Regions from separate parts of the Homo sapiens genome. Here regions 2 and 3 are each linked to region 1. Evidence: promoter capture Hi-C in 16 types of primary human blood cells and fetal thymus (Javierre and others, 2016). All regions are on one chromosome and are shown on one strand. Each heading gives the region's core, a stretch centred on a gene start or on the middle of the fragment in contact. The rest is flanking DNA. Distances are from core to core; before and after follow the strand shown.

The links. The method cuts DNA at HindIII sites, captures the fragments that hold promoters and counts their contacts. A CHiCAGO score of 5 or more calls a contact.
Region 2: a fragment that was not itself captured here is called in contact with the fragment with the promoter of SPECC1 in region 1 in 8 of 17 cell types (M2 macrophages, M1 macrophages, M0 macrophages and 5 more); the score reaches 9.8 in M2 macrophages.
Region 3: a fragment that was not itself captured here is called in contact with the fragment with the promoter of SPECC1 in region 1 in 2 of 17 cell types (erythroblasts and M0 macrophages); the score reaches 5.4 in erythroblasts.

What each region holds. Positions count from the first base shown.
Region 1 is chr17:20,008,038-20,010,648 of GRCh38, forward strand. It overlaps SPECC1 (sperm antigen with calponin homology and coiled-coil domains 1), which reads left to right and starts at 1,322. Exons shown (of 15, transcript NM_001243439.2): 1 at 1,322-1,387. It overlaps SPECC1-DT (SPECC1 divergent transcript), which reads right to left and starts at 1,223. Exons shown (of 1, transcript NR_186461.1): 1 at 18-1,223. RefSeq lists an enhancer at 124-691 and silencers at 1,124-1,793, 1,814-1,993. The HindIII fragment of the contact is 26,343 bases long and covers 1-2,611 here.
Region 2 is chr17:20,244,770-20,247,380 of GRCh38, forward strand. It overlaps SPECC1 (sperm antigen with calponin homology and coiled-coil domains 1), which reads left to right. Exons shown (of 15, transcript NM_001243439.2): 8 at 1,157-1,302; 9 at 2,450-2,550. Among named protein-coding and RNA genes, the nearest start is that of FAM106B, 170 kb to the right of the region's middle. The HindIII fragment of the contact is 2,846 bases long and covers 1-2,611 here.
Region 3 is chr17:20,198,772-20,201,382 of GRCh38, forward strand. The region is part of intron 3 of SPECC1 (sperm antigen with calponin homology and coiled-coil domains 1); the gene reads left to right. Among named protein-coding and RNA genes, the nearest start is that of SPECC1, 190 kb to the left of the region's middle. The HindIII fragment of the contact is 9,625 bases long and covers 1-2,611 here.

The DNA of each region.
Region 1 (2,611 bases), core at 72-2,571:
AAAAAAAGACAAGTTTATTGCAGGGATAAACTGGGTTTTTATTAGGAATTTATTATAACTAGGACTCATTACTTCAATATGAGGAAATCAGCTGTCACCCGGTTTGCTCGTCCTTACAGACATCTCCCTCCTCTTCCTCTCTTCCTTTCCAGTGAAAATGTCTTCAAGTTTCCTCTACCAAACCAAAACTTCACCCCACTTCTTTTATTCTTTCCTCCTCTCTTCTCAGAACAAAGGGGTTGTTGCTGACCAGCCCAGGGTTTCTTATTTGGGGCCGGATCATTCTTCCTTGTGGGGCAGTCCTGTCCTTCAGGTAGGATGTTGAGGAGCACCCTCGTGTCTACCCACTTAGGCAACAGTAGCAACTCCCGCATCATGACAACCAAAAATGTCTCCAGACCTCCCCAAATGTACGCGGGGCGGCGAGGAGGGGCAACACCGGCCCTGGTCGAGAACCGCTAGCCTAGGCTCGCCCCTCTACCTGGGCGCCACAACTTGCCAGGGTTGGTTATTCTCCCTGGATCCTTTCCTTCCTCCTCATTTGAGCTTCACGCCCTCAAGTATGACCAAAGGTTCTGTCATTCCACTCCTGCAGTTTTCATTAAGGTCTTAGGCCACTTCCATGTCAAGAAACACAGTGGCTCTTTCTAACCCCTGGCCATGAGGCACCCCTGGAGGAGGAGCCGTGAGGGTAGGGAAGATGCTGAGGGGGATGTTGACCTTGCCGACTTCCAGGCGCCTCCGCTGCATCCCGGAGGAGGCGTTGGGCGGTGAGGGTGCAGCGGGGGGGCGGGCCCCGCAGGATGAGGTGTCCGTGTGCGGCTAGCGCCACAGGCAAGACCGGGCTCCTTGCGGGGCGGAGGTGAGGCCGTGAGCATAGCTCTCAAACTGGAGGGCGCCTCAGAATCACTTGACGGGCTTGCGAGAATGTGGACTGCTGGGCCCCACCTTCATGGTTTTAGTGCAGGAAAAACCGAATAGGCTGGGTGGGACGGAGAATCTGCATTTTCTCAAGTTCCCAGATGAGGCTGAAGCTGCTGGTCCGGGCACCACCCTTAGAAAACCTCCAGTGTAGAGTGCGGAAATGGGGTCCACATCTGGCTTGGGACGCCCAAACATCGATTATGTGCGACCAGAGGATGAGCAGATAGGGAGATGAGACACTGAGAGCTGGGAGAGAGGGGGCCCCCGGCCGCCGGCTGAAGGAGGACGGCGCAGGCGGCGGTCCGGGTACTACATCTCCCAGCGAGCCCCGCGCGGCTCGCGCTCGCCCCCTGGCGGCGATGGCTGGAGGCGCCGGCGGAGCGCGGGTCCCTCTCCTGAGCATCAGTGAGCGCCCGGAGCCGTGGCCGCTGGGGGTTGCGGCGGCGCTGAGCCAGCGGGGCCGGTGAGTACTAGCCGCGCCGCCAGCCCGCCCGCCGGCCGGCTCTTTGCGCCTCAGCCGCGTGGTCTGAAGGGATGGGCGGGCGAGCGCGGGGGTCCGGCAGTCCGTCGTGGGGGCACGGGACTGCCTTTCTGGGAAGGCGTGCTGCGTCTTCGCCGCGGGGGCCCCGGTCCCCTCGTCGCGTGTCCTGTCCCCAGCCCAGGAGGGACGTCCTGGCCTGTCCTGCCCGGCCCGGAGCGGTGGGACCGGTGCCGCAGGTGGCAGCGGCAGGTGGCCGCCTCCTCCCCTCCGGGCCCGAGGGTTGTCGCAGGGACCCGGGACTGAGAGCCAGGTGGCTCCCGACAGCTGCGGCCCTGGAGGCGACCCCAGCCCTCGCCGCAGTGGGACAGGTGCGCGGGCACGCCCGGCCCCGGCTCCTGGGTCTCGGGAGCCTCCCGCACCCTCCCTGTTGTGCCTTGGGGGTGCTGCGTGGTGCAGAGGACCGAGAAGCCCTTCGCCCTCGGCGTCCGCCGCGCTCCCGCCCCTTCCTGGCCGGGGTGACAGGGGAAGGGCTAGGGCTGCGCATCCCGGGTCAGCTGGGGCGCCGCGGCGCAGTGCACCTGGAAGGCCCGGGGGCAGCGCGCGGTGCCCGTGGGTTTCCCGGTGGTGCGGACCTGCGGGCGTGCGGAAGTAACGACCTCCTTCCCCAGTGCCCATGCAAGGAAATTAGTGTTATGTGCTTGCTTTTTTTTTTTTTTTTTCCTAAGGAAGTTTGACTCTGAATATCTTATTTTGCTGGAGCTCCATTTGCCAGCACGTAAGTTTATGTAATAAGCGGCATACAGTTCGGAAAAAAATTTTCCTGTGAAAGTGCTCTTCCTTGCCCTCTGCAGGAAGAATTACGCCGAGCTGGTTGGCAGGCTTATCCACCAGCAACTGTAGGAGCTGCAGGCAGCAGATAAAGTGTTTTTTGAGTAAGGGCACAAGTCAGCCCTTCAGGACAATTTTTGTTTTTGGAAGATTCTGTTATCCAGTTCCAAACACCGTGTTATTTCAGTGTTGAAGATGGGGGAGGAGGGAGGAGCACAGGCTTGTCAATCCTAATACCTCAACAGAAATTAGCTTTGCAGGATTAACTCTCCAAGCAAGCGAGTTGAATTTGGTAGCCCAAACTACAGCTGAAGCTGAGCCTCCATACTAAAGCCTGTCTCAGTTTTAATAGTTTTTCGCTTGATTCGTTTGCCTCTT
Region 2 (2,611 bases), core at 54-2,553, 240 kb after region 1:
AACTATTATCATAAATTAGTCATCTTGCAAAACAGCTGTGGCAATATGATACAATGAAGAGAGCAGTGATTTAGCAATGAGAAGGTTGGGAGTTCTTGTCTTGGCTCCTTCACAGGGAGATCACATGACATGCCAAAGTCCCCTATATGAGGAAGCCATGCATTGAGAGGATTGAGGATTGGGTCAATGATCTATCATAGAATGCTTTCTATGAGTCTAGAAGCCTCATGAAGAACACACCAGGAAACTTGGGTGAGAGCAGGAGCTTCACCTCATGCAGAATTGCAGTGTGATTTTAGAGTGCTGTTACCATTCTTATGCTTAGAAGTCAGAGTGTCTGAATCAGGATTCTGTTGTGTATAATGGATTGCACTCTCGTTGGCTTAGGCAGAAAGGTGTTAAATGGTTTGCAGAATTGTTGGGAAGGCTGAGCTTCCAGGAGCAGCTCCCAAAGTCTCCACACACAACTGGACCACCAGGGAACCTGCTCCCTCCACCAGGACAGGAGCCTTAACTTCAGAAAGCTGCCCACCCAGTTGGAAAGCTGCCACCACAGTTGCCAGCACCATAGCATCTTGTCTCTGCTACAGTCTCTGTCTACATAGTGAATGCCCGGTGCCCTGCCTCTCTTCCTCTGATTCAGGTCCCACTCCAGGTCTTGCCCAAGTCTTTCTGATTGGTGGAACTTAAATCACACCCAAAATCCCAGCTGTAGGAGAGCTGTGAGATTTCATCTTTCCAAACTCTGTGTACTGCATGGGGGTTGGAGCACATGTCGGCAGCCGGTCCACTGCATTCACCATTGACAGTAGGTGAAATATTTATGGTCAATAACATTTGCATTTTTTCACAAAAAATGCACAATTTGCAGAGTAGCCATACACACTTTTTATTTAGAGCTAATATCAAGTCACTCTACATATAAAAATAATTATTTCTGACCATTTCCCAAGAAAACAGCTCTTCTAAAAATTGAGAGCAATGCCTACATTATTTCCTAAAGATGCAAACTGGTAGAGAAAACAGGATGTTAAATTCAGAATTTCCCTTCCAGCTTCATTTATTTTCTCCACATCAGTTCTGTTTTCCTCTGTGTCTTTTTCTCCCATGGGGATGTCCTCCATCTTTTCAATCTGATTTGCTCTTTGCCATGCAGACCTGTGGATGAAGAGCCAGAGTCCTCTGAGGTCGATGCTGCTGGTCGGTGGCCTGGTGTCTGTGTTAGCAGAACATCTCCAACACCCCCAGAGTCGGCAACCACCGTTAAGTCACTTATCAAGTCATTTGACTTGGGACGCCCAGGTATTTAATCATTTTTTCTATAAGCAAAGCTCCAAATTCAAACTTTGGCCCGACATTTGATATGTCTACTATCTCTACTCCACCCTGGCCCTGTGTTGTTACAACCACAAGGGCGCTTTCCAGGTCCTACCACGTGCAGCCACTGCATGCAGGAGCCTGGCTGAGGCTCCAGGGAGGCACTGATGGAGAGCCTGGCTCATGAATAACACAAATGCAGCCTCTTCCTCTCTACCGCTTCCTTCCATCCAGTTCCTGCCTTGCTACCTTTCTTTTCTGCCTCTCATAGCCATTAAATTCAGGTCACTACTATTTGCCTTTTTGTCATCTCATGAGAATTATGAGGGTCAGCTGGAGACTTCATCTCCTAGGAAACGAGACATCACATCTCTGCACCTGGCCCTCTTGGAGGCACCCCTGGCCATCCCCATCTTGCAACCTGCTAGACGTTTTTCTACCTGGTCTTGTACGTGAGCACCTGTGCTAATCTGTCACTCCTGATCTAGGTGTGTTCCCAGCTTTTCCTGGTGTTGTCTGATGGTCTCACAATTCCCCTTTAGTCATGCTTATCTTCCTATATGAGAAAGATGCGTAGCTATACTTCATACATATACTGTACACATAAACATAGCAAATAGAAGAAACAGAATGTGCATCTGTCTACAGTAACAATATCTTTCTTCCCCAGAGTGCAACAAACATGCCATTGTATTGGGAGACTGTAGTAAAAGTTAATCCTAGGATGTACCTGGTTGTCTCTGCTAAAATTGTTTGCACCTAAATTAGATTAAGACTAGACTCTACATATTCAAAGACATGAAAGCCTTTCATGTCTGTGAAGACAGGAAATGAATTAACAATTTGTACAAGAACTTTTCTGTTCCTTCCTTCTCTAGGCATCTCATTATTTATACAGTTTCTTTTTGCTCAGCTATCCTTCATCTAAGACTGACCTCCACTCAGCTAAATCTTCCCTTCTTGTTTCCCCAAAGCAGCTCTAGTCCGGAGAAGAAAAGGATAATAGAGTAAATATTACACTAAACACGGATACTCCTTAAGCCACCAAAAAAAGTAACAAGAAATCAGGAACAAGTATATGCTATTTTGAAGTGGAACAACATATAAATGTTCCCATGTTTTTTCTTGGCAGGTGGAGCTGGACAGAATATTTCTGTCCATAAGACCCCCAGAAGTCCCCTAAGTGGGATACCAGTGAGGACTGCTCCAGCAGCTGCTGTCTCTCCAATGCAGGTAGATGAGCCCCAGAAATAACCACTGCTTATGGTTTGCTGTGTATCCCTCTAGATGTTTT
Region 3 (2,611 bases), core at 65-2,564, 190 kb after region 1:
ATATCATTTTGAGACTTCTCTTGACTGGTTTCCTGTAATAGAGCCACTGCTTTCTCTTCCTCTTTGGTTTCCTCCCTTGTTTTTCTGGAACACATCCTCAAATAACTTCCTTAGAAAGGGTATTAACAGTTTAATTTTCTCAGTTTTTGCATGCTTTAAAATGTATTCTACCTCTGTGATTGATTTATAGTTCATCTGGGTAGAGAAATCTAGGTTGAAAGTCATTTTCCCTCCGAACTTTGAAGGCTTTTGCTTTGTTGCCTTCTAGGCTACATATGTGGTAATGGAATTGCAGGATCTTATGGTAGCTTTTTTTTTTTTTTTTTTTTTTTTGAAACAGAGTCTTACTCTGTTGCCCAGGCTGGAGTGCAGTAGTCTGATTTCAGCTCACTGCACCCTTCGTCTCCTGGGTTCAAGCAATTCTCCTGCCTCAGCCTCCCAAGTAGCTGGAGTTACAGGCATGTGCTGTGGCGCCCAGCTAATTTTTGTATTTTTAGTAGAGACAGGGTTTTGCCATGTTGGCCAGGCTGGTCTTGAACTCCTGACCTCAGGTGATCCACCTGCCTCGGCCTCCCAAAGTGCTGGAATTACAGGCGTGAGCCACCGTGCTGGTTTTTTTTTTTTTTTTTTTTTTTTTTTTTAAATAGAGACAGGGTCTTTCTCTGGTCACCCAGGCTGGAGTACAGTGGTGTAATCTCAGCTCACTGCAGCCTCAAACTCCTGGGCTCAAGTGATCCTCCTACCTCATCCTTCCAAGTGGCTGGGACCACAGGTGCATGCCCCCATTCCCAGGCTAATGTTTAAATATTTTTGTGTAGAGATAGGGTCTCACTCTGTTGCCCAGGCTGTTCTTGAACTCCTAGTCTCTAGTGATCCTACTGCCTTGGCCTTATTTTAAACTTTTTGAGGAAACTCCATACTGTTCTCCATAATGGTTGTACTGATTGACATTCTCACCAACAGTGTACAGGGGTTCCTTTTTCTCCATATCCTCACCAATACTTGTTATCTTGTGTCTTATTTTATTTTATTTTTTGAGACAGAGTCTCGCTCTGTTGCCCAGGCTGGCGTGCAGTGGCGTGATCTTGGCTCACTGCAACCTCCGCCTCCCGGCTTTAAGTGATTCTCTTGCCTCAGCCTCCTGAGTAGCTGGGACTACAGGCGTTTGTGGCACCACCGCCCGGCTAATTTTTGCATTTTTAGTAGAGATGGGGTTTCACCACGTTGGCCAGGATGGTCTCGATCTCCTGACCTTGTGATCCACCCGCCTTGACCTCCCAAATGTAGTACCCATTCTAACAGAAGTGATATCTCATTGTGGTTTTAATTTGCATTTCCCTGATGATTAGTGCATTTTTTTCATATACAGTTTGGCTAACTCCTGTTTTCTAATTTATTGCACAGATGTAATCATAAAAGAGAAACAGTAACATTACTCACAGACCAACCAGCTTAATACTCAGCTGTTCTCAATATCATGTGTTCTGTTATAGTTTGTGAATGCTTATTTTATATGAATTCTATGAATGCTTAGTTTGATGTACTCGTGATTGACCACAGTATAATTTTTCATTGGCATTTAAAAAATGTCACACTTCAAACATGTTTCTTCTTTATGATTGTGTTAATCTTCATAATTATGAGATGGAGCTTGCTTTTATGTTAACTTCTTGGAATCAGCCAGCCTCAGGAGGATGGTACACATAAGTGATGACGGGGTGGGAGCAGCACAAAAGATCCAATGGTGCTGGCTGAGCCAATCCCTGTTCCACTGGCCCTTCTCTCCACTGTCCCTTATGTGGTGCTGTGTAAGGAAGCATGGCCAGTCTCAGGACTTCAGAGTGCTTTGGTTAGCAGTGAGGTCTGACTCCCACTGCTTCAAGGAGGTGTCGTAAGCTGTAGGGCTGTTGCTCTTTACTTTTCCCTGTCAGTACCCACGAGGAGGTGTGTTTGGGCTGGAGGCCTGGGCTCACATGGTGGGTGCACAACCAAGACCATCATCATTGGTCTGATGATGAATTTTTAGCAACTCTGAACCTAACCTGTGCTCTGTAACAGTTTCTGAAATGAGGTGTACAGAGATGGGAAGAATCTTTTGGAAAACAGAGACAGACATAGTAAAAAAAAAAAAAAAGGAAAAAGAATAGATATAACAAAAATATGGCTGGATTGTACATTTCATAATACACATCCATTCATAAATATACTTTAGTTTCATGGTTTTTTAAAAATTCCTAGTAGTATAGATAAGGCAGAAGTAACACTTATGGGGAGAACAGACTGCAATTTGGCAGCAAAAGGAAGGTGTTAAACTGTAGCTGGAAATAACAGCAGACTTGATCTGTTCTATATTAATTTTTCCAGCTTCAAAACCAACAAACAATTGAAGGTTTAAAAAAAAGAAAGTGGCTGGGCACGGTGGCTCACGCCTGTCATCCTAGCACTTGGGAGGCCAAGGCGGGGAGATCACCTGAGGTCAGGAGATCGAGACCAGCCTGGCCAACATGGTGAAACCCCATCTCTACTAAAAAAAAAAAAACAAAAAAACGAAATACAGTAAATTAGCCGAGCATGGTGGCTCGCGCCTGTAGTTCCAGCTATTCGGGATGCT